Linked DNA regions of Homo sapiens: all the other regions are linked to region 3. The links are contacts of gene promoters, found by promoter capture Hi-C in human tissues and cell types (Jung and others, 2019). All regions are on one chromosome and are shown on one strand. The core of a region is centred on a gene start or on the middle of the fragment in contact, and the rest is flanking DNA. Distances in the headings are between cores, read along the strand shown.

Evidence for each region. The method cuts DNA at HindIII sites, captures the fragments that hold promoters and counts their contacts. A contact is called where the count stands out against the background at its distance.
Region 1: a contact is called between a fragment that was not itself captured here and the fragment with the promoter of ALG10 in region 3, in 1 of the 25 tissues and cell types used here (dorsolateral prefrontal cortex).
Region 2: a fragment that was not itself captured here is called in contact with the fragment with the promoter of ALG10 in region 3 in 1 of the 25 tissues and cell types used here (dorsolateral prefrontal cortex).

The regions. Positions count from the first base shown.
Region 1 is chr12:32,940,496-32,943,516 of GRCh38, forward strand. No RefSeq gene overlaps it. Among named protein-coding and RNA genes, the nearest start is that of PKP2, 45 kb to the left of the region's middle. The HindIII fragment of the contact is 6,625 bases long and covers 1-3,021 here.
Region 2 is chr12:32,819,975-32,822,805 of GRCh38, forward strand. It overlaps PKP2 (plakophilin 2), which reads right to left. Exons shown (of 13, transcript NM_001005242.3): 8 at 2,493-2,657; 9 at 1,382-1,555. Among named protein-coding and RNA genes, the nearest start is that of YARS2, 65 kb to the left of the region's middle. The HindIII fragment of the contact is 5,860 bases long and covers 1-2,831 here.
Region 3 is chr12:34,021,071-34,023,954 of GRCh38, forward strand. It overlaps ALG10 (ALG10 alpha-1,2-glucosyltransferase), which reads left to right and starts at 1,426. Exons shown (of 3, transcript NM_032834.4): 1 at 1,426-1,700. The coding sequence starts at 1,530. RefSeq lists silencers at 1,183-1,332, 1,246-1,432. The HindIII fragment of the contact is 12,723 bases long and covers 1-2,884 here.

The sequences.
Region 1 (3,021 bases), core at 289-2,788, 1.1 Mb before region 3:
TCTTGCGAATAGAGTCAAACATGTATGATATAGTTTGGATATTTGTCCGTGCCCAAATCTCATGTTGAATTGTAATCTCCAGTGCTGGAGGTGGGGCCTGGTGGGAAGGAAGTGCTTGGGTCATGGGAGTGGATCCCTCATGGCTTGGTGCTGTCTTGGAGATAGAGAGTGAGTTCTCTGGAGACCTGGTTGTTGTAAAGTGTGGCATCTCCCCCTCCACTCTCTCTCTCTCTCTTGCACCTGCTTTCCCAATGTGATGTGCCTGCTCTCCCTCCTGCACCTTCTGCCATGATTGTAAGCTTTCTGTGGCCTCCCTAGAAGCTGAACAGATGCCAGCACCATGCTTCCTGTAAAGCCTGCAGAACCATGAGCCAATTAAACCCCTTTTTAAGATAAATTACCCAGTCTCAGGTATTTCTCTCTTTCTTTCTTTTTTCTTTCTTTTTTATTTTTTGAGACACAGTCTGGCTTTGTTGCCCAGGCTGGAGGGCAGTGGCATGATCTTGGCTCACTGCAACCTCTGCCTCCTGGGCTCAAGTGTTATAAAAGCTTATTTAACAATTTACCTCTGGCTGATATTGTTTGTTTTGTTTGTTTGTTTTTTTAATTTTGAGACAGGGTCTTGCTTTGTTGCCCAGACTGGTCTTGAACTCCTGGGATCAAGTGATCCTCCCTTCTCAGGTGGGATTACAGGCATGCACCACTGTGTCCAACTTGACGTAATTCTTTTTTTTTTTTCTTTCCTGAGACAGGGTTTTGCTCTTGTTGCTCAGGCTGGAGTGCAATGGCATGATCTGGGCTCACTGCAACCTCCGCCTCCCAGGTTCAAGTGATTCTCCTGCCTCAGCCTCCCTAGTAGCTGGGATTACAGGGATGTGCCACCACGCTCGGCTAATTTTGTATTTTTAGTAGAGACAGGGTTTCTCCATGTTGGTCAGGCTGGCCTCAAACTCCCGACCTCAGGTGATCTGCCCGCCTCGGCCTCCCAAAGTGCTGGGATTACAGGCATGAGCCACCGCACCCGGCCCATAATTCTTTTAAATATGTATTTTGCTGGGTGCGGTGGCTCACGCCTGTAATCCCCGCACTTTGGGAGGCTGAGGTGGGAAGATCACGTGAGTCCAGGAGTTTGAGACCAGCCTGGGCAACTTGGTGAAACCCGTCTCTACTAAACATACAAAAATTAGCCAGGCGTGATGGTGCCTGCCTGTGGCCCCAGCTACTCAGGAGGCTGAGGTGGGAAGATTACCTGAGCCCAGGAGGTCGAGGCTGCAGTGGGCTGTGACTGTGCCACTGTACTCCAGCCTGGGTGACGGAGTGAGACCCTGTCTCAAATGAATAAATAAATAAAATTAAAAATAAATAAATAAATAAATGAATAAGTGTTTCAGCATTGGAAATAAATCTGGTGGTAAGCTAAGTGTACATTGATTTCTGCAACTGAGTTCTTACTATGGGTTAGGCAATATTATAGGCAGGATAACATGTGGAGAATAAGACAGACAAGGCCTCTAATTTACAGTCTATATTCTAGGGGTGCTATTGGTAATGAAGTATATAATAGTCAGTGAATATACAGTGTAATCTGTTATGACATTATTCCCAGAATCCCTGTCTAGGAATCATTGAAAAGGAATTACATTTTCTAGACATGGGCATTAGCAGAATGCTGGACTTAACAATATTTTCTCATGTGACAATAGGCAAGTTTCTTCCTCTCTATCTCAAAATTTCTTTTAGAGAATAATCTATTTTCCATTCATCATAATTTTAAAATGGACTATCATTAGGGCCTTTAATTCTTTAATTTGTAGGCTGGCAATGGAGACTGGTTAGGACCTATATTAAATGATAGTCCACAGGCCACATGATGCTTGTTTATCAATTGGTAGATTTTATTTTACCTTTAATAATCACCATCAGGAGGTTTCCTTTTTTTTTTTTTTTTTTGAGATGGAGTCTCGCTCTGTTGCCTAGGCTGGAGTGCAGTAGCACGATATTGGCTGACTGCAACCTCCACCTCCTGGGTTCAAGCGATTCTGCATCAGCCTCACGAATAGCTGGGATTACAGGCGCATGCCACCACGCCCGGCTAATTTTTGTATTTTTAGTAAAGTTGGGGTTTCATCATGTTGACCAGGCTGGTCTCGAACTCCTGACCTCAAGTGATCTGACCTGCCTCCGCTGTTTAAAGTGCTGGGATTACAGGAGTGAGCCACCATGCCGGGCAGGAGGTTTCCTTTTTAAAAAACATTTTAAATGGCTACAGGCATGTGCCGCCATGCTTGTCTAGTTAAAAAAACAAACAAACAAAAAACATTTGGTCCAGCGCAGTGGCTCACGCCTGTAATCCCAGCACTTTGGGGGGCCGAGGTGGGCAGATCACGAGGTCAGGAGATTGAGACCATTCTGGCTAACACGGTGAAACCCCGTCTCTACTAAAAATACAAAAAAGAAAAAAAAAAGTTGGGCATAGTGGCAGGTGCCCGTAGTCCCAGCTACTTGGGAGGCTGAGGCAGGAGAATGGTGTGAACCCAGGAGGTGGATCTTGCAGTGAGCCAAGGTGGCGCCCCTGCACTCCAGCCCAGGCGACAGAGCAAGACTCCATCTCAAAAAAAAAAAAAAAAATTTTTTTTTAGAGATGATGTCTGCTATGTTGCCCAGCCTGCCAGACTGGTCTTGAACTCCTGGGCTCAAGTGACCCTCCTGCCTCAGACTCCAGAAGTGTTGGGATTACAGTCACGAACCACTGTGCCTGGCCAGGAGATTTCTTAAAAGAATATCCATGTCCAGTGGAAAGGGATAGGCAGCTAAGTCTTGAATAGTTAAAGTCTTAGTGTGCATACATTTTTTGATAAAAAATAATTGAATTACTTGTCATCTCATTACATTGAAATGAGGCACACATTCGTAAGTGCCTCATAAAGGAAAACCAGTAATGACAAGACATGAAATGTATTGAGTAATTTACCATACTCCAGGTACTCTGCATTTCAGTTTATTGACTCTTCACAACCACTG
Region 2 (2,831 bases), core at 303-2,802, 1.2 Mb before region 3:
GGGAAACCTAGCATAGGAAAATGGGGAATAACGTGATTCATTAGTGTCCCTGTGTCATTAAGGGCTCCCTGGTAGTTCCCAGTTTCTTTCTCAATGTACATTTTGCAGAAAGCCAAACAGATGAAAGTTTGGTTGCATTCTTAACCACAATGCTAAGGTAAGAGAAATATTGGTTTTAGCATTTCACAATTTTATTCAGAGAACAAGCTTCTGTGTAAACACACATATTAAAGAATAAATATGGTTTCTCAAGTAAAACATAAATATTTTTTGCTACTTACAATAGTACTTTTCTCTACAGAGATAATTGGAGACTAGACAGACAATGAGCTATTTGGGGGGAGTTTATTCTAATCGTTTCATGACCAAGGCAAAGAATACAAGCTTAGTTTAAATCATTAAATACTTACAGAATACCTTAATATATAGGAAGGGTATAAAATACATGGGGAAGGGAATAACCTTTTACTATTTTAATTATTTTGACTTTGCTGCTATAAAGTAAGTGCATCTGGAAAGAGGATCAGCTCTTTATTTTGTAGTTGAATTTCTGGGACACAAAAGCACAGATGGCCTTTCCAACTCCATACTGCAGTAGACATCTGCTGTTGTTTTTGCCTTCCCAGCATTTATTCCTCCTTCCTTTGGTAGTAACAGTCTCATTTTCCATTAGGGAGCACTCCTTTACCATTTCAGCCCATGTGGTACAAGTGGCAGTGGCCCTCATCCAATCAAACCCATGCCCTGGAAGTGCACATCTGGGCATATGATCCAGACTTGGCCAATTAGAACATCATAGCCTCATAGACACAGGTATTGGTTCAGAAATGGGCAAGAGGCCCAAGCCAGCCCGTGAGACATATTCTCCAACTTCTTAACAACACTATTGGGAAAATGGTAGTTTGTTTCTTGTGGGGGACACATTGGGCTGATAAAACGTGAGCCTGAAATAATTCATGGCTGTCTTTGTTACCCTATGGAGAGAGCCTTTGAGAACAAACCCAGCAGAGGAAAACCAAGCCCGGAGATGAAGAAAGTCAACTGTAATCACTGGTGCACCTAAGTCCAGTCACGACAGAAAGAAGGCCCACCCTGGAGTTTTCAGTGCCATAAGCCAAAAATTTCCTCTTTTTTGCTTAAACCAGCTTGAGGCAGGATTCTGAGATCTGTAACTGAAAGAGTACTGACTTGACTTGTCAGTCAAGCAGCCTGACTTGACTTTGCATAAGCTGAGACCGAAGCCCTCTGTAATTTCTGAGAATTGTCTTTACTAAAATAAGAAACCTTTTTCTCTTCCCTCACTGTTTCATCTCTGAATTGAATGTAGGTATGTCTACAATATCATTATTTTAAAAAGTAGGAAATCAGGCCCAATACTCACTGGTCCACTTCCGGCCGTGAGGTTCTGCAGAGCTCCTAAGGATGCTTCTTGTGTGTAGTTGCGGACACTTTTGGCGATCAAGGACAGATACATCCTTATAACAATGGAATGCCACAGCCACTCCACGCCCTTGGGGTTGCTCTTTTCCTCCGGCATCGGCACGTCCTGGTATTGCTGACCACACACAAAAGGAATCCAGAATTAATGCATGTCAGGTGATGGCTATAATTTCACACTCAAACCAGGAGACCAGAAATACTGTCTAGAAAGGCTCATAATTTGCATAAGAAGCCCTTGAAATAGAAATTTTAAAAGCAAATATATATAATTTCTAATCACTTAACTTTTAGCCCATAATGATTATTTCTTCCTAATAACACTCCACACCCCTAACTTGATATTTCTCCCAGTGAGAGAAAATTCAGAGAATTAAGCATAGGTCATTCTAGAATGGTTTTCAGGCTGCTGTTGAGCTAAAAGCTAAATTAGTCACAACCACCCTGTAGATAAGAAAAACAGGCCTGTTCCCTCAGAGTCTTGTGAAAGTGTCCAGGATAGCACCAGGGTTCTAAATTTACCAGCTGGTTTCCACAAATACCACGATACTCAGAGAAGGAGGGGAGGTTACATTCTCTTAGTTTTCATATCAGTATGGAAATAAATATGTATTCCTTCCTATGAGGTTTGCTTTTAGTATGTCCAAAGTTTGTTTTTAGAATACCCAAGGCCAAATATCAGGGCCGACTTTAATAAAAACAATTTATATACAATTAGCTATGCTGCATTAAGCTTATTTCCTAACCTATAAGGCATAAAGCAGTACGGTTCATGGGTAGCAATGAAAATCTGGAGCCAGACTGCCTGGCATTGTATTCAATCTCTTCCACTTATTTGCTGAATTATTCCAGGAAAATTAATCTTACTGTGTCTCTGTTTCCTCACTGGTAAATGAGGGTATTAATAATACACACTTCAAAAGGTTGATGTAAGAATTAAAATAACTTAAAATAGTGCCGATATATACCAAGTACTTAGACATACACATATACACAAACACACACTCTCTCTCATTCTCTCCCTTTCTCATTCTTTCAAAAACTTCCCAATATACCTCTTTTACTTTCCTGCTTCGACTGCCAAAACATCCAATACTTTTGTTGTTGTCAGTCTGGATATTCCGGTTTTGAATATAGATATTCTGGGAATATTTCTCTGGGAGCTCTGCCTCCAGCTGGTAGGAGAGGTTATGAAGAATGCACACACAATTCTCCGTGGCCTGAGAAAACAGGACAAGAATATTGATCGTATACATATAGATATCCTTGCAGGTGTGATATCACAGGACACAGGCTTTAGCTCTTACAAGGTTTACCAGATGCAACTGGGTGTGCTTAAACTGCGGGTTGCCTGGGGGAAATGCAATGAGTATGGCTAGAAAAGCTAAGGTTTT
Region 3 (2,884 bases), core at 176-2,675:
GTAGATCACATCAACCTCTTGAAGACTGAATCATCTGGAGATGTGTTACAAGTGACTTAAACAGATAAGTACAGCATGGACTCAACAATAAAATGGGAGATAATGGTTAAAACAAAGCTAAGCATCACATCAGAGTAGGATCCTCACATGACTTTATTCCAGTAATGTAAATGTTCCCATCCCAGCCCTCATTCACCACTACTTCCTCTTATCATTGAGGAAACAGGCAGAGACAGAATGGAAAGGCAGTCAGCTTAATTTAAGAAACTTTCTTAAGTTTAGAAATACTGAATTAGTTTTAACCCAGAAAAAGAGCTCAATTGAGAACTCTGAGGTTTGCAACCTTAAATCCCGCCTAAATTCTGATATATTCCTGCCAAAGGCAACCTGATTGAGGTTACCTGAGAAATAGTTTTTCTACAAAACATGGCCAACCATGCTCAAGACAAAATTACAACACATAATTTATCTTCGGCATTCTTCAAATTATTTACCTCATCTCCTGCCCCCAGCACCTAATCCCAGAATACAGGAATTTGATGATGTCTACACAGCCTATAAAAGTCCACAAATTTAAGTGCCTACTGTGTGAAAGCCATTTTGGGGACTACAAACATAAAGGATGTATAATGCCACCCACTAAGATGTTCACGCTTATGATTTAGTAGGAAAAACAGAAGGCTGCCTTACAGATATTAACAACCAAATTTACAGGCACACCTAAAACATCCCGAATTCTAAAATATATATGTATTTTCCAAATCCTACAGGGTAATATGACTATGAAAGTGCACTAGGAATGTCAATTTAACTAAATCCTCTGAGAGCATCCACATTTTGAAAGAGTTCTCTTTTAACCTAAACAAACAAACGAACAAACACTCCTCTCACTGAAGTTCATTCGGCATTGACGGGTCTCTGGTTCTTCAAGTTTTCATCTAAAACTCTCAGTCTTTGCTATCACAACCAACGCACCCTTCCTACACTCCAAAGTTGATGGAATGAAATGTCTTGGAATTGAGGGTTTAATTAATTCGGATCACTGGAGAGAAATAACAGAAATAACGGGGGAAAAAATGTGTCCATTTTAGGGCTTGGAATTGGAAACGTGGGGAAACGTCGCCACCTTCTGGTAAGTGATGGAAGTGAGCAGGAAAAAAGATCCAAGCTAAGAAGCGGCTTTTTTTTTTTTTTTTTTTTTTTTTTTTTTCTAAGCAGCAAGCCACGCACCTCCCGCGCTGGCGAAATCCGAGACCCGCCCCTTCCGGAAGTTTTGACACTTTGTGCGCCCCGGGCAATGCGATTGAGAGGGTAATCATCCGGTCCGTTATCTAAACCCGTCACTCCGGGAAACAGCGACCCGATCTTTCCGGATCCGCGCTCTCCCAGCATCCTTTGCCTTCCGGTATGTGGCCCCGTCTGGCTAGTCCCGCCTAGCGCGCCCATTTCGAGCCCAAGTTTCCAGCTCGGGTTTCCAGGCTCAGAATTTTCCAGGAGTAGGTTCTTGGGCAGTGGCTGTGGGAGCTGGAATGGCGCAGCTGGAAGGTTACTATTTCTCGGCCGCCTTGAGCTGTACCTTTTTAGTATCCTGCCTCCTCTTCTCCGCCTTCAGCCGGGCGTTGCGAGAGCCCTACATGGACGAGATCTTCCACCTGCCTCAGGCGCAGCGCTACTGTGAGGGCCATTTCTCCCTTTCCCAGGTGGGGTCCCCAACCTGTCCCCACCCCAGGAGAGGCCTGAGAGGTCCCAGCGTCCCCACGTCCTCCCATCCTTAGACTTCACTCGTCCTGTTCCACCCCCTCAAGCCTCAGAACATGAAAGAAACTGGGTATAGTCTTTTGTTCCTGTCTCTGAGATCTGTGAAATATTTATTAAATGAATGAATAAACAGCAGATCTGTCCTCCAGGAAGGAGTGATCTGGGAGAATACTCAACGGGGAACTGAGCCCTCCTCTTGGCAGCTGACGATATCGATCCCACTTTGTCTTTCCTTGTTTTAGGATTAAAGGCATTCGGGTGCTCCTTGGAAATACCAGAAAACTTTCCTTTAGCTCACCTGTCAAGCACCTCACTGTGCATTTTAGGGGTGGGATAGGGTGGACTGGAGGGATCTTCAGCTACCAAAAAGTGACAATTTATAATCACAAATTCCTTCCCTGGGTATTTTTAGTGAACTGTTAACTGGATAAACTGGCAACCAGTCAAGTCACATCATTTTTGAGTATATATTTGACTGTGCAAGTATGTACATATAAATATCAAAATAAGCATCCCCTGCTTCTCTGGTGACACAATATAGGGTACTGGCTAGAAATATAAAGTCTGTTTTAGAGAAAGATCTGATCTTAAATCTTGGTGCTGTGATTTACTAGTTTTGTGATCTTGGAGATGTTCTGAGTTTCAGAAATTCAGGTTACTCATCTGCAAAATGACAATAATCTTTACTATAGGGCATATTGTAACGTTAATACAGAGGGTTTGGCAACAATTTCTGTCTCAGTTTATGTTAGCTGTCATCATGGAGCCTGTGGTCCAAATGTTTTCCTAAACTTAAGAGTCCCAAACAATGTTTCCATGCTTTTAAAAACTGGAACATTTGCAGTTTATTTATCAAAATAAAGGCTTTTAAAGAACATTTCTTGGAAAATAGAAATAGATTTTAAGTTGTTGTTGTTTATTGGTTGCTGCTACCTGAACCATCACTAAGCTGGTCCGGGGGCAAAAAATAAGAAAAACGAATCCTGTTCTGCCAAGGACTTACTTAATCTTGTCATAGAATAACTTCTCAAAATTTCTGATTGTTGCTGGAGATGAGACTTGGGCTTGACATATTTGTGCCTGTCTTGTTCCTATTACCTCTTGCTTTTACTTCATTTTCTTTCAT